Linked DNA regions of Homo sapiens: region 2 is linked to region 1. Evidence: promoter capture Hi-C in 16 types of primary human blood cells and fetal thymus (Javierre and others, 2016). All regions are on one chromosome and are shown on one strand. The core of a region is centred on a gene start or on the middle of the fragment in contact, and the rest is flanking DNA. Distances in the headings are between cores, read along the strand shown.

Region 1 (6,821 bases), core at 1,458-3,957:
CAACTCGTTCTCTGCCTCACCTTTTAAAGGACTTGCAGCTTCCACTTTATTCCTCTGCGAATGCTCACTCTTAAGATGCTCCCTCTCCAAACTAGCCACAATAGAGTGAGATGTCCAATCTACATGGACTGGTCATGAGTGGACACTCCAGTCAACAGTTCCAGCTGAGCTCTCAGCTGCCAGCCAACGTCAGCTGCCAGCCATAGTAAGTGACCCATGTTGGACATTCCAGGGTGGTTCGGTTGGCAGCAATTGATCGCCAAAACAGAAATGAAGACTCATTGATTTGAGGTCCCACGGCTAGAAAGTATCTGTGGTAATGCTAAGCCAGATGCTCTGACTCTAAGCCCACTTGGGCTTTGATTCCTCACTGCCTTCTATTAAAAACAGAACAAGTCTCGATTCAAAATCTCCAAGTGTAGAATTTCTGCCAAGGATGCAGGTTGAGGAAGTGAAGCATGTAATTTGGTCATTTATTCAGCTTTGTTCATTTATGCCAGGCAACTGAACAAAGTGCACTCCTGGTTCTCAAGAAACTTAGAGTGTAATCAATAGAGAGCCCTCTAAACAGCTCATTTCAATAAGAACTCCTAAGTGCCATGGGGCAGCATGTGCAGGAACCCATGTCCAGGCACTAAACCTAGCCCAAGGGATGAAATAATATGCACATGTTTTATCGGGTATGGAAGAGTATCTCCGTGCCTGTATGGAGGATGCTGAAAAAATGTTTAAAATGAATACAAATATTCTTCAAGATAAATGTGACAGGAAATGGGGAGAGAGGCTGAGAAGAACCCTAATATTTGGGAAGGAAACGTGAATTCTAGTCCTGGTTCACCCTTGACTGAAATGTGCCCTTGGCCAAGTTGCTGAATCTCTCTGTAACTCAGTATCCTGATCTGTAAATCTGAGGTGGAATCACACTATTTCTTCCTGTACCTTCCTTCCTCCTACTCCATCCCTTTAAGTTTTGGTGTTCCTCGGAGTTTGGTTCTTTGCTCATTGCTCTTCTCACTCTGCAAATTCTCCCTAAGTGATCTCATCCATTCCGCTAGCGTTTGTTATTACTCATGTAACAAGGAAATCCCTTTATGCTTAGCCTAGTTCTTTCTGTGGGCTATCTACCGATGTATTCATCTGCTTACAGTACATCACTGGATGTTCTACAGGCACATGAAGTTCAATATACACAGAGCTTGGCTCATCACCCTACCCACTTAACTGCCATTTCTGATTTCTCCCTTTACAATCAAGAATCAACACTGCTACCCAAGCTAGTGGCCTATGAAATCAACTTCACTTTCCCTTTTCTCTCAATCTCACATGCAATTGTTTGTCAAGTACTGCTAATTTTGTGTCCTAAGTTTCTGAAATGCATCCCTTTGTCTAGATATCTCATAAACAGCTCAAATTCAAAATATTCAAAGCTTAACTTATTACTTCTCCCTCCTGGTTCTCTTCATGTGTGTTCCAGGAGGATGTTATCACTATCTACCCAGGTGCTAGGTATCTGGGACTTGGGCATCACCCTTGTTTTCTCCTCTTGTGCCTCCCATAACCAGGTAACCACCAATTCCTGATGTTTGGCTTCCTATTCAATCTACTCACCTCTCTCCATTCTCATTGCTATTATCTTTCACTTTCTGTAGTAGTATACGGCCTTCTGTCTTCACTCTCTCTGACCTTTTCCCCACTGTGCAGCCAGATCTGATCGTGTCAGCAACTTCCCATCCCCACCCCCCATTTTTAATCCTTTGATTCCTGATGTTTAACCCCCATGACCCAGACTGCAAAATCTAGTATAGGCATCATAATCCATCCAGAGTAACATAATGTACTCGGCACATAACAGATACTCAATAGGTATTAACCTGTGCTCACCGCCTGATTATTGGTTATTTACAGCAGATAAATCCGTGAGGTGCTCTCCGTGCGCTGTACCTCTGGAGGCACAGGGTAACATACGGCTCATTGTTGTTATGAGCTGGAGGCCTTAAATGAAAGCTATAAGACGTTAACTGCGCATAATAGTACCAATGAATTCCGTAGTCAGTACAGAAAAGGATGCATATCCCAAGATATCTTCATGATGGGGCCTTAAAACAAAAGTCACCCTCATGGCTCTGCACTTTTTTTTTTTTTTTTTAGACAGGCTTTGGCTCTGTCGCCCAGGCTGGAGTGCAGTACTGGCGGGATCTCGGCTCACTGCAACCTCCACCTCCTGGGTTCAAGCGATTCTCCTGCCTCAGCCTCCCGAGTAGCTGGGATTACAGGCGCCCACCACCACGCACGGCTAATTTTTGCTGTTGTCGTATTTTTTGTAAAGATGAGGTTTCACCATGTTTTTAAAAGGACTTGGTCTTGAACTCATAACCAAAAATACATAACCTCGAACTCTTGGGCTCAAGTGATCCTCCCGCCTTGGCCTCCCAAAGTGCTGGGATTACAGGCGCGAGCCACCGAGCGCGGCCCATACGGGAAAACGTCAAAGCCTGACAGGTGTGACAAATAATGGGCCCCTAGGCAGGCTGGGGCTGGCGCGTGCCTGTGCGCGTGCGCGGGGCGCGGGGTTTTTAACACCGCGCAGCCTTCCCGGCGGCCCCCGAGGAAGGCGGGACAGGGCCTATTCCCGCGGTTTGGTCCGGCCATTGGCGGGCGGTTTGAATGACGGAAGTGACGGCGGCTCGGCGATGGCTCTCCCGCAGGCGCAGAAACGGCTGCTGGGCAGCTGATGGGCAGGAGCTTACCAGGCTGGCTTGCTCTGAGCTGCGGTTACTGTGTCCAGGCCCCGGGTTCTCAGGTGAGTCAGGGATGCACTGGCTTCCCAGTCGCCCCGTAGGAGCATGACTCCCCGAGGCCCAAGAGCTGGGATTGTATTCCGGAGGAATGGGATCCCAGGAAGGCGCCTTGTTGCGAACGCAGGTACGGCTCGCGTTTCTCAGGCTCCGCAGGCCGTGGGCCCTGCCCGCGGTCGGGCTGGCGGCTGTAAGGAGTGTCCGGACCAGACCCGGTAACTCAGTGCGAGAGGCTTTGCGCGCTCTCCTGGGGTCGGGTCGCGCGAGCTTCCCACGCAGCCTCCCCTGTCGCGGAGCTTCCGTGTCGGGGGAGGGGCGCTTCCCCCAGATCACCCGCGGACATGGCCTGCCACCTGGTAGCTGTTAAAAGAGCCTTGCCTGGATCGTTTCATGCAAAGAGCACGCTCTCTTTTGGTGTCTGCCACCTTAATCTCACAGTTATTCAATCCTGTCACAAACTCAACTTTTAAAACAATGGTGAACTTTTGAGTCCTTAATACTTAGAGTGTATTTGAAGACTTCACGCTAAGTCACATAGACGTCAGAACAAACCTTTTGGGGTAGATATTATTATTCCCTTTATACAGTTTAAGAAAACGAAACCAAAGTGACTTCAGTGACTTGGCCAGTATCTTCCTGCTAATAAGTGGCAGTGTTGGGTCTTGAACCCAGATCTTCCAAGTTTAGTGTTAATTTTGTGATTACTATGTACCAGGAGCCATTTAATCCTCAGGACGAAATCTTGCAAGATAAGTAGTATAATCTTCAATATTGGATAGTAATAAAATGTAGAATTTAAAAATCCATATTACTAAGAATAAATAATTAATAAACAAGTAAATGGGGCAGCAGGGAAAACTTCCTTACAGCAGGATTCCGATTGATAATTGTAGAAGGAATAATGGAAATAGAAAATACTATTTGGTAAACACCACAGTAGTTGTTTCAGACAACAGTCATCAATGGATACTAACGTCAATGGGCAAAAGTATGATGAAAAGCATATTTCTGTAGCCTCTACTCTGTCTTCATGAGATATTTATAAAGGAAAAGTAGTAACTACAGAGGAGAAACCTGGTGGACATCATCTTAACCAAGTGACCAAAATTCAGCATCATTTACCTCTTGATAACAATGCACTGAAAAGGTGCCTAATCAATTCTGTGGTGTTCTTGCCAAAAATACATAACCTCAGTTTAATCACATAAGATTAGACAAATCTAAATGGAGGGACATTCAACAAAGTACTTGGCCAGTATTTTCAAAAATGACAGGGTCTTGAAAAGACAGACTGAGAAACTGTCCCAGATTAAGGGGGACATGACAACTTTGACATGAGAATGTAACTCACATATCTTAATCTCCTGCATTCTGAAATCTCCATTTGCACTGAGGCCATGCTTCCCATGGGCTGCTCCTAGCCACTGACAGTGGCAGGCCTGTTCCTGAGAATCTCCCCACGGGTTCTTGCTGAACATTTCTTATACTGCATGGCTGTCTAAGAGGGGTCTACCCATTGTTACTTCCCTCCATTCAGTGTTAGACTTACACTGAAGTCTGAGGCGCTTGTAACTTTTATCAGCTCCCTCCCATTTTCCCTCACACACGCATTTCTCCTAATAAAATATTTGCAGGTTTACTCCCATCTTAGCGTCTGCTTTTTAGATGACACACAGTTACACAGCAACAAATGCAATGTGTTATATCCTTGGATTGGCTTCTGGTCCAGAAAATAGACATTAGTGTGATAATTGACAAAAATTGAATACTGCCTGTAGATTAGTAAAAAATATTGTGTCAGTGTTAATATTCAGATTTTGATCATTGTACCATGGTTATGTACAAGACGTTGACATTTGGAGAAGCTGGGGAAAGGGCAAATGGGAATTCTAAGCCTGAAATTTCCAAATAAAAAGTTTAAAAAATTTAAAAATTATACACAAGAAGAAACAGTTATTCTATCGCATTTTAGGAGCTTAAAAATAATAAATGTTTATATGTTTTTCAATAATCCTCTGAGATGAAGTAATGGATACCTAAAATTTGAAATATTAGGATTTTTTTCCTCTTAAAGTATAAGAATAAAACACAAATCTAGGTATACCATTTGAGGAATTTTTACATATGTATACACTTGTCTAAACCATCATACAGATCAAAATATATAAATTTTCAGTACCCCAGCAAGCTTCTTTGTGCCATCTCCGAGTCAGTAACTTCCAGTAAGGTAACTTTATTTTTACCTCTCATGGATTAGTTCTGCTTGTTCTTGAACTTTATATAAATCAATTTTGTTGTACTTTTTTGTGTCTGGCTTTTTAAAAATTCAGCAATATTATGTCTATGAGATTCATCAGGAATTAGTCTTAATTATTTAAATATGAGGGAATTTCTTAGACCTTCAGACAAAATAATAAAGATACATTGTGAAGATTAATCTTGTTCTTTTTTCTTCTTTGTTAAATTTTCTGTTTTTTAAATTCTCACTCTCAAAAAACAACAGCTTAAATAAAATTTTCGCCACTCCACATATTTTTGTGTGTTGGAAAGTTAGGAGCCATTTGGAATAAGGAAACCAGATTCTTCCCTTGGCTCCGCCACTAGATGTTGTCACTCAGGGAAAGTCCTTTAACCCAAGAGGCCTTGTTTCTTCATGTATAGCATGAAAAATATAATCAGTACTTTAGTTACCATTACCAAAGCCGTGTGAATATTAGATGAGTAGGATGCATTAAAAGATTTTTTTAATGCCAGCAGTTAGTCCTTTTTGGTGTTAGAGTCTTATTGAAGGTTGTGATGATTGTGTATAGCTCTGTAGCACTTCACATAAATTAACTCATTGAGTCATTCATTCAGTCAACACACTTACTGAAGTAACTACCTATGGGCGAGACACTGTTTTCAGGCTATGGACATAAAATGGTGAATAAGTCCATTCTGCCCTGATGAGCTTACATTCTGATGGAGAAGTCACTGGAAAGGTATTAGTCCCTGTTAGGTAATCCCACAGTCTCCTAGCCCCTATTCTGTTTACACCTGGTTGAAAACATTGTGCATCCATAGTATGTGAAATATTACCTGGTAGTTATTTATTAAATTTAATTGAATATTAAAATTTTTATTAAAAAACCCATAGCCATTGTCCTTCAATTGTTAGGAATCTAACTAGAAAGAGCAAACTGTAATTGATGAAAAACTACAGGAGGTAATACCAAGACAACATAAAATTAGTCCCCATCTGAATGTATAGGTAATAATGTATTAGAGTTGGGCAAATCAGGAGTGGGAAATTGCAACAGGAATTATCAGAGGACAGCTTCGTAGAGGAAGGAGGGCTTAAGCCAGCTTTAGAAAGATGTAAATATTCAGTAACTGAGATTGTCTGCCTGGTCATTGTGAGGGAGACCTGAGAAATGTTGATTGTCTCAGATAAAATGCTCATGTACTCATGTAAAGTGTCTAATTTTTTGGAAATGGCAGTAATAGGAGCCAGTTAATATCAGAATTACCTGAGGAGGGTATTCAAATTATAGAACTATAGATTCTTATATTTATTCCATTTCTTTTTGCCTCGTTCCCCCAAATAGGAGCATGTTATAATCTAGGGAGGAGAGAGAGAACACAGTGTGAACGGTAGCAACAGAAGAATAGATCTGGGCCGGGCGTGGTGGCTCACACCTTTAATCCCAGCAACTGGGGAGGCTGAGGCAGGTGGATCACTTGAGGTCAGGAGTTCGAGGCCAGTCTGGCCAACATGGTGAACCCCTGTCTCTACTAAAAATGCAAAAATTAGCTGGGTGTGATGGCGCATGCCTGTAATCCCAGCTACTCAGGAGGCTGAGGCAGGAGAATCACTTGAACTCAGGAGACGGAGGTTGTGGTAAGCCAAGATTGTGTCATTGCACTCCAACCTGGGCGACAGAACGAGACTCCATCTCAAAAAAAAGAAGAATAGATCTGGAAAACTAAACGCTTGATACAGCCGAGCAAGTCATTCATATAAAAATTACGTCACTATAATTATTG
Region 2 (6,821 bases), core at 2,145-4,644, 410 kb before region 1:
TCTTTGAAGGCACAATTAGGCACTAGATTAGAGATGATGCTGTATGCGTATAGGGCTCCATCCTTAGGGCCCAGTATATACCCTAAACCAGTGACTATTATACAGTGTTATATCTCCAATATGCAGACCGCATGGGTCCAAAAAACAAGGAAGGGCGACAAAAGTAGTCCACTTATCATCACTCCTCGTGACCCACATGGATAATTTATTCTTCCATTTCCACAACTCTAGGCTCTACATGACTACAAGTTCTGATTCCCAGATGTAAAATGTTTCCACCATGGAACGAACAAGAGTGCCAATGAAGTTCAAGCTATGGATGTCACCTACTCTCTTCAGGCTCCTTTGCTAAGGCCAGTAGGCAAGATAAGGAGTTGCCAGCCTGGAGGTAATTCACCCTCACCAACAGGAGGCAGGAGGACTGCTCTTACACAGCAAATGATCATCACAGCATGCCAGAGGACCTTTGTGCTTCAGTGGCTAAGGGAGTGATAAGATTTCAAAGATAAACTTTGACTTCTTTCTCTAAAAGGAATTACAGGCTCTTGGAGAAAAAACTGTAAGTCTTAAATTTCACTTTTTATTGATATATAATGGTTGCACATATTTATAGGGTATGTGTGATATTTTGATACATGTGAACAATGTGTAATGACCAAATCAGGGTAACTGGGTTATTCATCACCTCAAATAATGATCATTTCTTTGTGTTTAGAATGTTCCAAAGATTCTCTTCTAGCTATTTTGAATTATACAATTAATTGTTTTTAACTATAGTCTCCCTACTGTGTGTGCCATTGAACACGGGTACTTCTTCCTCCTATCTAACTGTATTTTTGTATCCATTAACCAACATCTCTTAATTCCCTATTTTTCCTACCCTTCCCAGACTCTAGTAACCACCACTCTACTCTCCACCTCCCCAAGACCACTCCCACATATGAGTGAGAACATGGAATATTTGTCTTTCTGTGCTTCACTTATTTAACTTAACATAATGTCTTCCAGTTTCATCCATGTTGCTGCAAATGATAGGATTTCATTCATTTTATGACTTAATAATATTTTATTGTGTATATATAGCATTTTTTATCCATTCAGCCTAATCATCAGGGAAATGCAAATCAAAACCATAGTGAGATACAGTTAAAATAGCTATTACCAAAAAGACAGAAAATGCTGGCAAGGATGTGGAGAAAGGAGAATGCTCACACACTGTTTGTGGGAATGTAAATTAGTATGGCTGTTCTACTTTATATTTTTTAATTATTATGTTAGTTTACTACTTTTAAACCTGACTTGGCTAAAGATTATGTATTTTTGAGTATCTTAAATGTGCAGAACTCTGATCCTAACTAAAAAAATCCCATTAGCCAGCAATTTCATCTTTGGTAAACACTCCTTTACAAACTCTAGTATATATTGTGAAAGTTATCAGAATCAAAGTGTAGTCACTAATGTTAAGAAAACTCTGACACATATAGCCAGAGAAGGCCATGAAGAGAAGATTCTCATGATTGTATGCCTAACAATGAAAAAGACTCCACAAAAACTACAGCATTGCACAAAAGCCATTGCAATCTTAGATCAAAAATACTTCTGCAAGGACATCTGCCTGGCAATGGCTTATTCAACCTTGGACTGATGTCAGTCTTGCTATTAATCTTTGTAGCTAAGAATAATTATTTCAAAACAGTTATGTAATCTTCCTCATTTTTTCCCTTTAAAAACCTTTGTCTTCCTTTACCTCCCTGAATATACACATTGTTCACTATGACATACGTATTCCCATTGCAATACTATATTCCCAAACAAACATATTTTCTTTTAGAGAGCCTCTTCTTGTTTGTTATTTAGGCTGACAATATGAAAGAATATTCATATAGCAGCATTGTTCACATATTGAAACTTTGAAGCAGTACAGGTGTCCATTAAGAGAAAAATAGATGAATATTCATATAATAGAACATTGTTATATTCAGCAACAGAATATAGCAGTTGGACTGAATGAAACTACAATGAAATGCAAAAAATATGGATGAATCTAGCATTATAATATTCACTGAAAAGTAAGCACCAAACGATTATACACTTTATTCTTTCATCTTTATGATGGTAGAGATTAACTAAAATAAATAGTCTGTAAGAATACTTAGAGATGCAATAAAACATGAAATTCAGGGTGATGCCATCATTCTTCACAGAACTAGAAGAAACAATCCTAAAATTCATCTGGAACCAAAACAGAGCCTGCATAGCCAAAGCAAGACTAAGCAAAAAGAACAAATCTGGAGACATCACATTACCAAACTTCAAACTATATCATAAGACTATAGTCACCAAAACAGCATGGTACTAGTATAAAAATAGGCACCTAGACCAATGGAACACAATAGAGAACGCAGAAATAAAGCCAAATACTTACAGCCAACTGATCTTCAACAAAGCAAACGAAAATATAAAGTGGGAAAGGACACCCTGTTCAACAAATGGTGCTGGAATAATTGGTAAGCCACGTGGAGAAGAATGAAACTGGATCCTCATCTCTCACCTTATATGAAAATCAACTCAAGATGGATAAAGGACTTAAATCTAAGACCTGAAACCATAAAATTTCTAGAAGATAACATTGGAAAAACCCTTCTAGACATTGGCATAGGCAAAGATTTTTATGACCAAGAACTCGAAAGCAAATGCAACAAAAACAAAGATAAATAGATGGGACTTGATTAAACTAAAAAGCTTATGCATGGCAAAATAAAAAATTAGCAGAGTAAACAGACAACCCACAGAGTGGGAGAAAATCTTTGCTGTCTATACATCTGACAATGGACTAATAAACAGAATCTACACGGAACTCAAACAAATCAGCAAGAAAAAAAAACAAATAAACAATCCCATCAAAAAGTGAGCTAAGGACATGAACAGGCAATTCTCAAAAGAAGATATACAAATGGCCAACAAACATAGGAAAGAATGCTCAACATCACTAATGATCAGGGAAATGCAAATCAAAACCACAATGCAATATCACGTTACTCCTGCAAGAATGGCCATAATCAAAAAAATAAAAAAATTTTACATGTTGGTATGGATGTGGTGAAAAGGGAACACTTTTACACTGCTGATGGGAATGTAAACTAATACAACCACTATGGAATATAGTGCGGAAATTCCTTAAAGAACTAAAATCTACCATTTGATCCAGCAATCCCATTACTAGGTATCTACCCAGAGGAAAAGAAGTCATTATACGAAAAAGATACTTGCACACACATGTTCATAGCAGCACAATTCGCAATTGCAAAAATGTGGAACCAGCCCAAATGCCCATCATTAATTGACGAGTGGATAAAGAAATTGTGGTATACATATACACACCATGGAATACTACGCAGACATAAAAAGGAATGAAATAATGACATTCACAGCAACCTGAATGGAATTGGAGACCATTATTCTAAGTGAAGTTACTCAGTAATGGAAAACCAAACATTGTATGTTCTCACTTAAGTGGGAGCTAAGCTATGAGGATGCAAAGACATAAAAATGATACAATGGACCTTGGGAACTCTGGGGAAAGGGTGGGAGAAGGTGAGGGATAAGAGACTACACATTGGGTACAGTGTATACTGCTTAGGTGATGGGTGCACCAAAATCTCAGAAATTACCACTAAAGAACATATTCACCTGCTCCCCAAAAACCAATTGAAATAAAAAATAAAGCAATTTCCTTTGGAAAAAAAATAATAAATTTTGTTATCTCTTCTTTCCTAAAAAAAAATTCAGGGTGATGTTTCCTAGGGCAGTGGATATATGGGGAAGTTGTATTAGCTATAGGTTATTGTCAAGGACCTAACTTTTATTTTAGTGATGGGTGGTCCATGATGTTTATTATATTATTAATTAATTAATTTGGTGGCCATATGTCAATCAATGGTACAAGAATTTTATTAACCAAAGACTATACTTAATGTAATTCCTGTCCTGAAAGGGCAAAAAAAATTAAACGCAGCAAAATAACCATATCTGATTTTAACGTTACTCAAGCTTTCAGTATTATCCAGTTACATATCCATGGTAAATACTCTAAATTAACTCATTCGGCCCTATCCTGGCTCCCTTTTAGCAGGCAGAGGCCAGAAAGCTAAAAACTATACTTCTCAGACTCCTTGCAGCTAATGTTGCCCCAGGTGTAATCAAATGACACTTTGATTTAGAACTAAGCAGCATGGGAAGAGGGACAGGATGTCACACCATTTTGCTGGTGTGGACAGTAGCATTGGCAAAGAGACAGTGTGGCTCAGGAGCAGATGGTTGGCATATCAGCTTCCTGAATCTTCAGTCTCTTGACCATTGCAGAAGCAACCGCTCCTTTGACTCAGTTCCACACACTGGTTTTAGAAGTTGTTTTTAGAAGGTCAGCCTAGAGGGCAATTCTTTGCCTTCCAATGGTACAATAAACCATACAATACCTTTTAATAAATTCATTTCTCTTGAACTTGCTGAATAGATGCTGTTCATTACAACTTAACTCCAGCTGATACAATATCCATAATAGAATATTTCCTATTTCTCAATTAGTTAGATAATCTTAAGAAACAACTGTCATTGATTAATTTTTATTTTTTGCTCAAAAGCTTTCTTCTGATCAAGAAAGGGCTGAAGCTTTGCTGTTCTTCTATTTAAACAGGAGTGATACACATGTAACTTGAAAGTATGACAGATAAAGGGTTTTATTTCTCAGAGTTCATCTTATTTGAGATAGAGAATATATGTTTTAGTAATACCAAATTGCTATACACCCATCATATTTCTTTATAGTGAAACAATATTGTGCTTATTGAGTATTAAAATTCTACAAATGTAGAAAGGCTTGTGACAATGTGATAATTAAATAAAGTTCAACTTACTATTAAAGTCACATCTACTCAAATGTTCCTAATACATAATCATTAATGAAGAAGGCTTATTACAATTCTGAAGTGACATGAAATGTATGTGATGTGGATACTTACACAGATAGGTCACACATCCTGCAAAAAGGACTCAGCAGGGTATCTGTTCATCTTTAGAGAATAGCTTAGTCTCTAGGCAGGAGTCCTGCCTGATTATGTAATGTGGCTCTTCACTGAGAGATGCCTAAATTGCATATAGTTTCTGCAAATGGCATTTCCCAGGGAAGAGGCTTCTGTTTCCCACATGTTGCATATGCAGCAAGATGACAATCAAGAGAATGAGAAATTATAATGATGTAATTATAGTAAGGCTACTACTTGCTGCTAAGTTTATTCTTCCTATTATTGTATTCTGCCCTGTGTGTAATAGACTCCTATTAAAGCTACATAGTAGAAGACGTTTCATCAGCTGCCCCACCACATCTTGCAGAAGGGTCAGGGCCTGCAAGGGTATTAGGGAGAGGGAAAGATTTTGCTACAGCTAATTGGATGTATGTTGAACACCTGACTAGAGGATGCTGTAGCAAATGCTTACGAGAGAATTTAAACTCAAAGCCACAAAGATTGAACATCAGTGGTAGATCTGATGCTGAGTGAAGGCTGGGGACTATTGGGCCGTGTGCAAGAGATAAGCAAGTAAAAGAAGTTATGGAGAAAAAGAGCCAGAGTGAAACAAACAGAAAGAAAGAAGCATACACAGGAAAAGGCTGTCAGTCTCGATTTCCATTCTGCTAAAAGAATATAATCTATTATAAACAATACCTCAAAAACATGCATAAACACACAACAAACAACCTTCACAAAGCACCTGCTTAGGTACTGACAAATCACCATGTTGAATCAATAATTATTCCCAGGGCCCCATTATGACTTTCATGGCACTTTGCCTTCATGGGTCCCTTCTTTCATTAAAAAATTTATTAATTATATTTTAAAACTGCAATGACATAAAGCAGGTATAGTCCAAGCTGGATTCATTATTATACATTCACTATTATTCATTTTTCTTCTGCTTTTAAAAGAAACTAAAATTAAGACATCTTCATGGGCCCGGAAAGTATTGTGAGCCATATGTACATAGGAACACTGTGTTATGTACCTAAACGGGTAAGTCAATTCTGTGAATTTCTAATACCTCAGAGGATTAGGCATAAGGAACTTTTGTCAAGCAAATGGTGAGGGTTCACCTTTTAACCCTCACCATTTCTTTTACGAGCTTTTCAATTTTCTTAATGTGGGCTTTATATTCTTCATGTACATTGTTTTAAAAATGCTTGACTTCGTTGTCAGCTGGTATTTCCCATTCCAAGTACATCTGCAATTTGCCTGTCAGTTTTAAGTGGTCATCATTCCCATCCTAAAAATTGATGCATTTTACTGTCCTGTCTCTCTTAGGGAAGTACATGACTTTGAACTGATTCACCTTAGGGACATGATTAGCTTTCCAAAATGGGCTGCCTTCTCAGAGCATCAACAGAGGAGTATCAGAGAAAACATGGAGAGTACAAGAGAGGAGACTGCAAAGGACTCAGTGCAAAACTTACAGGGAAAATGGAATATATGTGACCAATTTATTCCAGAGCTGACAGATTTGGATGAAGTGGCTTGACCCCTTTTCCTGCTATCCTTTAGAAAGCCAACTTCCTTGTGAGTTCCATTCCAAGGCCTGGAGTCAAATAAGCAAAGGCCACTTAGCACTATTTACAGAATGGATAGATAGTAAATATCAATGTGACTATATCTTGGAATCCTGTATATTAATAAAATAATTATAATTTTTATTTGTTTGATAATACTTTTTAATGTTAATTTTAAGCTATATTCAGTAGTTTAACTTTCCTTTCCTGCTCCTTGACAGACCTC

Evidence for each region. Contacts are between HindIII fragments. The CHiCAGO score rates a contact against its expected background, and 5 or more counts as called.
Region 2: a contact is called between a fragment that was not itself captured here and the fragment with the promoter of CEP295 in region 1, in 1 of 17 cell types (M2 macrophages). The highest score is 5.7, in M2 macrophages.

Annotation. Positions count from the first base shown.
Region 1 is chr11:93,658,975-93,665,795 of GRCh38, forward strand. CEP295 (centrosomal protein 295) reads left to right here and starts at 2,708. Exons shown (of 30, transcript NM_033395.2): 1 at 2,708-2,800. RefSeq lists a silencer at 2,472-2,541 and an enhancer at 2,702-2,831. The HindIII fragment of the contact is 3,556 bases long and covers 1,426-4,981 here.
Region 2 is chr11:93,251,701-93,258,521 of GRCh38, forward strand. No RefSeq gene overlaps it. Among named protein-coding and RNA genes, the nearest start is that of SLC36A4, 57 kb to the left of the region's middle. The HindIII fragment of the contact is 1,308 bases long and covers 2,741-4,048 here.